Linked DNA regions of Homo sapiens: regions 1 and 2 are each linked to region 3. The links are contacts of gene promoters, found by promoter capture Hi-C in human tissues and cell types (Jung and others, 2019). All regions are on one chromosome and are shown on one strand. Each heading gives the region's core, a stretch centred on a gene start or on the middle of the fragment in contact. The rest is flanking DNA. Distances are from core to core; before and after follow the strand shown.

What was found. The method cuts DNA at HindIII sites, captures the fragments that hold promoters and counts their contacts. A contact is called where the count stands out against the background at its distance.
Region 1: a fragment that was not itself captured here is called in contact with the fragment with the promoter of SNX7 in region 3 in 1 of the 25 tissues and cell types used here (thymus).
Region 2: a contact is called between a fragment that was not itself captured here and the fragment with the promoter of SNX7 in region 3, in 1 of the 25 tissues and cell types used here (aorta).

What each region holds. Positions count from the first base shown.
Region 1 is chr1:98,612,649-98,615,595 of GRCh38, reverse strand. No RefSeq gene overlaps it. Among named protein-coding and RNA genes, the nearest start is that of SNX7-DT, 47 kb to the left of the region's middle. The HindIII fragment of the contact is 8,915 bases long and covers 1-2,947 here.
Region 2 is chr1:98,712,394-98,715,473 of GRCh38, reverse strand. The region is part of intron 7 of SNX7 (sorting nexin 7); the gene reads right to left. Among named protein-coding and RNA genes, the nearest start is that of SNX7, 52 kb to the right of the region's middle. The HindIII fragment of the contact is 4,775 bases long and covers 1-3,080 here.
Region 3 is chr1:98,660,154-98,663,051 of GRCh38, reverse strand. SNX7 (sorting nexin 7) reads right to left here and starts at 1,331. Exons shown (of 9, transcript NM_015976.5): 1 at 1,141-1,331. The coding sequence starts at 1,320. It overlaps SNX7-DT (SNX7 divergent transcript), which reads left to right and starts at 2,280. Exons shown (of 1, transcript NR_189290.1): 1 at 2,280-2,745. RefSeq lists silencers at 950-1,019, 1,250-1,369, 1,390-1,529. The HindIII fragment of the contact is 3,254 bases long and covers 1-2,422 here.

The DNA.
Region 1 (2,947 bases), core at 230-2,729, 48 kb after region 3:
ATAGGCATCAATGTCCTGGGAGAGATAGCAAAATGAAGCATTTAAAAGCCTTCAGCAAAAGATTCCAGCAAGACAGCTTAGTTGCCCTATGGGAGTTTTGTGGGGACATGAATGATTCAGTTGCATAAACCTTAGACTCTAGATGAGGAACAGTGATGGCAATTTCCGAACTTTGCTGGTTTGTGGGGCAAACGCTATTAATAGGCTGAGCAGCTGTTTTGCCACTGGTTCTGGAAGAAAAAAAGCTAGCTGAAAAGCACTTGGTATAGTTTGATCTAAAAGTGAACACACTGGACAAATAAAATGAACAAATTTTATTCTCACACTAGCATTTGATTACTCTTTTCAGACCAATTTTTTTGTTCCTTCCACAGCTTCTTTTTTTTAATTTTATTATTATTATACTTTAAGTTTTAGGGTACATGTGCACAATGTGCAGGTTAGTTACATATGTATACATGTGACATGCTAGTGTGCTGGACCCACTAACTCGTCATCTAGCATTAGGTATATCTCCTAATGCTATCCCTCCCCCCTCCCCCCACCCCACAACAGGCCCCAGAGTGTGATGTTCCTCCTCCTGTGTCCATGTGTTCCCATTGTTCAATTCCCACCTATGAGTGATAATATGCGGTGTTTGGTTTTTTGTTCTTGTGATAGTTTACTGAGAATGATGATTTCCAATTTCATCCATGTCCCTACAAAGGACATTAACTCATCATTTTTTATGGCTGCATAGTATTCCATGGTGTATATGTTCCACATTTTCTTAATCCAGTCTATCGTTGTTGGACATTTGGGTTGGTTCCAAGTCTTTGCTATTGTGAATAGTGCCACAATAAACATATGTGTGCATGTGTCTTTAGAGCAGCATGATTTATAGTCCTTTAGGTATATACCCAGTAATGGGATGGCTGGGTCAAATGGTATTTCTAGTTCTAGATCCCTGAGGAATCACCACACTGACTTCCACAATGGTTGAACTAGTTTACAGTCCCACCAACAGTGTAAAAGTGTTCCTATTTCTCCATATCCTCTCCAGCACCTGTTGTTTCCTGACTTTTTAATGATTGCCATTCTAACTGGTGTGAGATGATATCTCATTGTGGTTTTGATTTGCATTTCTCTGATGGCCAGTGATGGTGAGCATTTTTTCATGTGTTTTTTGGCTGCATAAATGTCTTCTTTTGAGAAGTGTCTGTTCATGTCCTTCACCCACTTTTTGATGGGGTTGTTTGTTTTTTTCTTGTAAATTTGTTTGAGTTCATTGTAGATTCTGGATATTAGCCCTTTGTCAGATGAGTAGGTTGCGAAAATTTTCTCCCATTTTGTAGGTTGCCTGTTCACTCTGATGGTAGTTTCTTTTGCTGTGTAGAAGCTCTTGAGTTTTATTAGATCCCATTTGTCAATTTTGTCTTCTGTTGCCATTGCTTTTGGTGTTTTAGACATGAAGTCCTTGCCCATGCCTATGTCCTGAATGGTAATGCCTAGGTTTTCTTCTAGGGTTTTTATGGTTTTAGGTCTAACGTTTAAGTCTTTAATCCATCTTGAATTGATTTTTGTATAATGTGTAAAGAAGGGATCCAGTTTCAGCTTTCAGCATATGGCTAGCCTGTTTTCCCAGCACCATGTATTAAATAGGGAATCCTTTCCCCATTGCTTATTTTTCTCAGGTTTGTCAAAGATCAGATAGTTGTAGATATGTGGCATTATTTCTCAGGGCTCTGTTCTGTTCCATTGATCTATAACTCTGTTTTGGTACCAGTACCATGCTGTTTTGGTTACTGTAGCCTTGTAGTATAGTTTGAAGTAAGGTAGTGTGATGCCTCCAGCTTTGTTCTTTTGGCTTAGGATTGACTTGGTGATGCGGGCTGTTTTTTGGTTCCATGTGAACTTTAAAGTAGTTTTTTCCAATTCTGTGAAGAAAGTCATTGGTAGTTTGATGGGGATGGCATTGAATCTATAAATTACCTTGGGCAGTATGGCCATTTTCATGATATTGATTCTTCCTATCCATGAGCATGGAATGTTCTTCTATTTGTTTGTATCCTCTTTAATTTCATTGAGCAGTGGTTTGTAGTTCTCCTTGAAGAGGTCCTTCACATCCCTTGTAAGGTGGATTCCTAGGTATTTTATTCTCTTTGAAGCAATTGTGAATGGGAGTTCACTCATGATTTGGCTCTCTGTTTGTCTGTTATTGGTGTATAAGAATGCTTGTGATTTTTGCAAATTGATTTTGTATCCTGAGACTTTGCTGAATTTGCTTATCAGCTTAAGGAGATTTTGGGCTGAGATAATGGGGTTTTGTAGATATACAATCATGTCGTCTGCAAACAGGGACAATTTGACTTCCTCTTTTCCTAATTGAATACCCTTTATTTCCTTCTCCTGCCTAATTGCCCTGGCCAGAACAGACCAATTTTTAAAGTTTTTTTACATCATCTTCCAAATATGACAATTTCCATTGTGATTATTTTAAAAAACCTTTATGAAAAATGTTTTTGTGACATATTGTTACTTGATGCAATTAATAGGCATTCATTTATATTTTAAAAAGAAATTTTCTATAAATGTTTTCTTTATTAGTGTTCTAAAGAATCAATTTAGTCTACAAAAGCAGTGACTCATAATTTATGCCTGATTTTATTTGTCAGTACAGTTGACAAGTGAATAGCTTTTAAAAAGTAATTGATGTTAGTACTTTACGAATTGAAATACTGCAGACAGATCAAGTGAGAGAAACTGATGTGGCTTTTGCCTTTCATTAGAATCCATAAATGGAAGAAAGCAGAGTATAAGGATAGTACATACTCTGGCATACAATATATTTAATAATATCAAGGTCTTTTGAAAAATAATAGCAGTCTTTTAAACAGAATTAACTTTTGAATGTGGTATCACATTTTAAATTCACAAAACAAAAGTATCCATTCGGAATAATTGTGAA
Region 2 (3,080 bases), core at 22-2,521, 52 kb before region 3:
ATTACATTGGAAAAAGAGTGACTTTTATAGTGGAGAAGCTGGACGGACATTGCCTTAATCAGTCATCAAACGGTGCAGAATCATTAATGGGACAAATAAACATCATATACTACCTAAAAAGAATCAATGAAAGGATCACAGTAACACTTAAGTGACATTCCCGTCAAAGACTGATAATATAAATCTAAGCTTAAGGAAATATGAAACAAGTTAAAATAGGAGGCATGCTACAAAATAATCTTCAAATGTAGAATGGCCATGAAAGTTAAGGGAAGATGAAAGACTGTTCCAGACTGAAGGAGACATCTAACTAAATACTGTCAAAAAAACATTAGAGAACTGGTGAAACTTGAATGGGTCTGAGCATTTGATAATATAAATATATCAATAACTTATTGATATTGATGGTTGTACTATAGTTATATAGGAAAATATTCTTGTTTGTAAGAAACACACTATTCAAAGGTTATTAGATTTACAACTTATTCTCCAATGGTTCAAAAGAAATGCAGGTCTTTGAAGTGTACTTGCAAATTTTCTGTAAGTTTGTCACTTGGAAATAAATTTAAAAACATGTAACACATCAAATCACAACTCTTCCCCACTTGAAACCCTTCAGGGGCTCTCCATTGCAAACAGAAGAAAACTCAAGGCCTACACATTGTTCGTCCGCTCGCTTTCAGTCCTCATGCCATAGTGCTGCGCCTCTGTCCTTCATATTCTAGCTACTTGCAACCTAACAAACCTCCTGGAACATGTGAATTCATTCTCATTTCAGAGGATCATGGCTTTTCCTCCTTCTTCCAACACTGGTGCTCCAGAATTTGGATCAATGGCCCCTTATGATGATTCAGCTCTCTTCTCAAGGTCATCTCCTCAGAAAGGCCTTCTCTGATCACTCTAGATACTTCCCCTCCTGGTATTCTTTATCATGTTACCCTGTTTTATTCTCTTTATAGCACTAATCACAGTCTAAAATTATCATATTCATTTAATTTTTTTACTTATTTTCAGCATCCTTCCACTAGAGAATAAGCTCCTAGGGAGACGGGCTTTTTCAGTCTTCTTAAGGAGCCAAGAACTATTTGCTGATTGACTCTCTAGGACTCAATTTTCCCGTCCACAAAAATGGGAACAAATTACTACCTATCTCACAGGATTAGACATTGGCTGATATATGTGAATGCTTAGCATAGTGCCTGGCATACAACATGTACTAAATAGATGTTAAATATGCTTATAAAATGAAAACACTAGTTTGGGTCTAGAAATTCTCTGAAAGTTGAATAGCCATGTGACTGGGGCATTGACACCCCTCTAAATTGACTACTGACTAAGATTCACCAGAGAGAAAAGGCTTACTCTCCAAAGTCTACTAATTATACAACTATACCTCATTTTATTGTACTGTGCTTTTCTGTGCTTTGCAGATATTCCATTTTTTTTCTAACAAATTGAAGCTTTGTGACAACCCTGCACTGAGTAAGCCTACCAGCATCATTTTTCCAACATGTGCTTACTTCACGTGTCTGTGTCACATTTTGGTAATTCTTACAACACTTCAAACTTTTTCATTATTATCCTATCTGTGATGGCGATCTGTGATAAGCAGTCTTTGATGTTACCACTGTAATTTGGAAGAGGGGGCAGAATTGTGTCCATATAAAGTAGTGAATCTAATCCATAAATGTGTATGTTCTGACTGTATCACTGACCATTCTCCTGTCTCTGTTCCTCTCCTTCGTATTCCCTGAGAGACAATAATATTGAAATATGACCAATTAATAACCCTACAATGGCTTTTATGTGTTCAAGTGAAAGAAAGAATTGAGCATCTCTTACTTTAAATCAAAAGCTACAAATGATTAAACTTAGTGAGGAAGGCATTTCAAAAGCTGAGACTGGCTGCAAGCTAGGCCTCTTGCACAGAACAGTTAGACAAGTTCTGAATGCAAAGAAAAAGTTCTTGGAAGAAATAAAAATGCTATTCCAATAAGCACATGAATTATAAGAAAGCAAAAAAAAAGCCTTATTGCTGATATGGAGAAAGTTTTAGTGGTCTGAGTAGAAGATCAAACCAGCCATAACATTCCCTTAAGCCAAAGCCTAATCCAGAGCAATGTCCTAACTCTTCAATTTTATGAAGGCTAGGAGAAGTGAGGAAGCTGGAGAGGAAATGTTTGAAGCTAGCAGAGGTTGGTTCACTAGGTTTAAGGAAAGAAGCTGTCTCCGTAAGATAAAAATGCCAGATGAAGCAACAAATGCTGATGTACAAGTTATAACAAGTTATCCAGAAGATCTAACTATGATCATTGATAAGGATGGCTACACTACAAACAACAGATTTTCAATGTAGACAAGTTTTTTTTTTTTTTTTTTCCTGAGACAGAGTTTCGCTCTTGTTGCCCAGGCTGGACTGCAATGGCACGATCTCGGCTCACTGCAACCTCTGCCTCCTAGGTTTAAGCAATTCTCCTGCCTTAGCCTCCCGGGTAGCTGGCATTACAGGCATGTGCCACTATGTCTGGCTAATTTTCTATTTTTAGTAGAGACAGGGTTTCTCCATGTTGGTCAGGCTCATTTCGAACTCCCAACCTCAGGTGATGTGCCCGCCTCAGCCTCCCAAAGTGCTGGGATTACAGGTGTGAGCCACTGTGCCCAGCTGACAAAAGTTTTATATTGGAGGAAGATGCTATCTAAGACTTTCATAGCTAGAGAGGAAAAGTCAATGCCTAGCTTCAAAGGACAGCCTGACTCTCTTGTTAGGAGCTAATGTAGTTGGTGATTTTAAGTTGAAGCCAATGTCCATTTACCATTCTGATAATCCTAGTGCCCTAAAGAATTACTCTAAATCTACTCTGCCTGTGCTCTATACCTGAAATAACAAAGCCTGGATGACAGAGTTATCTGTTTATAGTATGGTTTACTGAATATTTTAAGCCCACTCTTGAGATCTACTGCTCAGGAAAAAAGATTCCTTTCAAAATATTACTGTTTATTGACAATGTACTTGGTCACTGAAAAACTCTGACGGAAATGTACAAGGGGATTAATACTGCCTTCATGTCAGCTAATGTAAC
Region 3 (2,898 bases), core at 82-2,581:
CTAAACATAAAATAATTCCATTGTTTTACTACTTAACAGAAAAGTCAAGAGCACAAAACTGTGATAGTCTGTTTAAATATTCGGAATACAAACCTGGGCCTATCATTCCATTTAAACCGAAGTAGAAATAAGTTTTATATACTCCTCTTTGGAGTCAGAGTATGCATGGTCACTTCCTAACTTTGGTTTGCTCTCCCAGAGTAAATGCGGTGGTTAAGTAGGTCGTTTGCTTTACCTAATATCTCCAGGTAACGTTAAAATGAACAGGCTTCTTAGTAATGAATACAGCGTTGTGATCTGAACTCAGGTCTTCTCTCAGCAGCAACTTGAGAAACTGGAGTGACATTCAACCTCCCTGCAAGAAAGGTATTTTTCTTTTCTAAAACCCTTTAAGAAATTACAAACACCAGTCTACACGTACCAAAAGTCTACCACTAGCCCCCACAAGTCAATTTCCCTCCAACAGTAAAATAAGCAAATAAGAGCCTTTGGTCCTAAATTTCCCGGGGGCAAGGAAAAACGAAAGCACTGGCTGTGGGTTGGGTGGCAGTAGCTGACCATCTGAAAAATCCTTAGCTCCTCAGCGGAGGAGCTTCCTGTTAGAAACAACCGTTTTCTCCTGTTCAGGGAGATTTCCTAGAACCTATTCCCACAAGACCCGAGACTCACCCAAGTCTCAAATCCACAAGCAACAACACTAAATTAAGAATAATTTCTCTAAACTTGGCTGCTCTCCCAGAGTTCAGGGCTGGCCTCGCCCGAAAAGCAGCTGGCGGGAGCGGTTTTGAGCCACCAGCCTCCCAGGTTCGGGAGCTGCCGCGAGGAAGATGTCTGTGTCAGAGAAGCAGAAAGGGAAAACAAATCACAACTTTGCAGACTCCACTAAGCCACAGCCCCGCCGAACGGAAGGTCAAAGTGCGGAGGAGGGAGCGGCTGCGGTTTGAGGCCCCGAGGCGACGCGGCCCCGGGTGCGGCCAGAGCTGGCAGGCGGGGTCCAGCAGCCCGGGGGACCTCACTCGTCCCCAGCTCAGAGCCACCGCCCCGGGAGGGCAAGCGCGCCAGAGGCAGCCGTCGGCGCAATGCTGGCAACGCCCGGAGTTGCCTTGGAAGTTTCCCGGGACTCGCCGCCGCCGCCCTCACCTTGCTGAACACCTCCAGGTCGTCCTCGTCCTCGTCCAGATCCAGCACCTCCGCCTGCAGCAGGGCGGAAGAGCCACTGCTGCCCGGAAAGGGGGCGCCGCCCCCCGGGCTCTCCCCGTTGGCGCCCCCGGCCGGGAGGCCCGAGGAGGGCGCCTGCGATGCCCGGCGCTCGCCCTCCATCCCGAGAGTGCGCGCCCAGCCGGCCGCCACCGCCGCCGCCAGCCCGGCTCCCCCGAGCGTGCCCATTGGCTCCCACGTCTCCTGCACCTCCCCGGCCGGCCCCGCTCCAGCCCCTCGCCCGCTGCGCAGACGCGGAACTGCCGGGACCAGCGCTGGCCCGGGCCGGGCGCATCCCCACCTGGCCTGGGGCGGGCTGGAGGGGCGGAACTGGGACTCTCGGACTCCGGCTACGTTGGAGAAAGGGTTGGCTGTACCCTGGAGAAGAGGAGAGACTCAAAGGTAGGAGGTGGGCGTCCTCGCATTGACCCAGTCGGGGGCCACCGAGTGACGGTTTCCGCAGTGGCGGGGTCTGGGAAGAAGCCACGAAGCGAACCGTCCACTTCGCGGGATCCACAGCGAGGCTGGAAGGCACCCGACCCAGCCTTGCCAAGAGAAAAAAAAAAAACAGCAATAACAATACTGTATTTCCTGTATTCAGTGGTTGCCTTTCTTCTTGGTTGTGATTTTCGAGCTAATGTAAAAATAAAGACATGAAAACTTCCCGTTTTGTTAATTGATTTTTGACCCAGTGACTGGCCTGTGCGGTCATTTCACTGTCGAGCCAGGAAAGCTGAGCTTTACAAACTATTTTCAGCCACTTTCAAATGCATCTTTACTCCTGGACGTCTTCCTGAAGTTAATGAGCAGAATGTTACCAAGACCCAAGGACAACTAGCAAGTCTGGAAAATTGCCACCGAGAAATAATCTTCAGTCCTTGCATTGCCAAGGCAAAGCTTTAATTATTTAACTGCTTATTATTCAAAAACAAAACTAAGTTCCAAAACTAATGGAAAATTTTGCCCACGTTGATATATTCTTTAATTTATCTTCAGGTTTTATTTACTTCCGTCAGCCCCACCTCTTTTCTGTAGGCCCATTTAAAAATTTTTAAATACATTAAGCTCTATGTAAGAATTCCTTATTTGGGGAAATAGAGAATATCTTTATTTCTGATTAGAGGCAAGGCCTTAATAATATATTATCTCCTAATCATTCAAATGTATTCCCATTGATTTCAGACGTGCACCCACCCTTCAGTCAGGTTGGTCACTGCCCCATGAGTATCCACATTTGTTTCTGTGCTTGATGATTTCTGTACTTTAAATGCCATCTCCTGCCCATCCTTCAGAAATTAAATATAGTCCCATCTCTTTCAGAAAGACTTTCTAAATGACAGTCTGTTCTCAATTTAGCATTTAATTTTATTCCATCTTGCAGATTGTATTTGTTTCATGTACAAGTTTTCCATTCCTTAGTAAATGATAACATTTTCAGGTTGAGGATCCTGATATGTATTAACCACAGTATCAGATGTACTCTCAAAATGCTCTCTGCTAATTTCTGTAAATAATATAAGTTATTAAAAGACTTTATTTTTTCCTTGATAAGCTTATTCTGACTAGTAAGGAAGATTCAAGGTTTTCTAATTGCAATCTGAACCAGGAAATTCTTAATAATGCTGTAACTCACAGAATTGCTAGAAACCATAGAGAATGGGCTCAGAAAATGGGCAGAATAAAGCAAGGCTGCACAGCTTG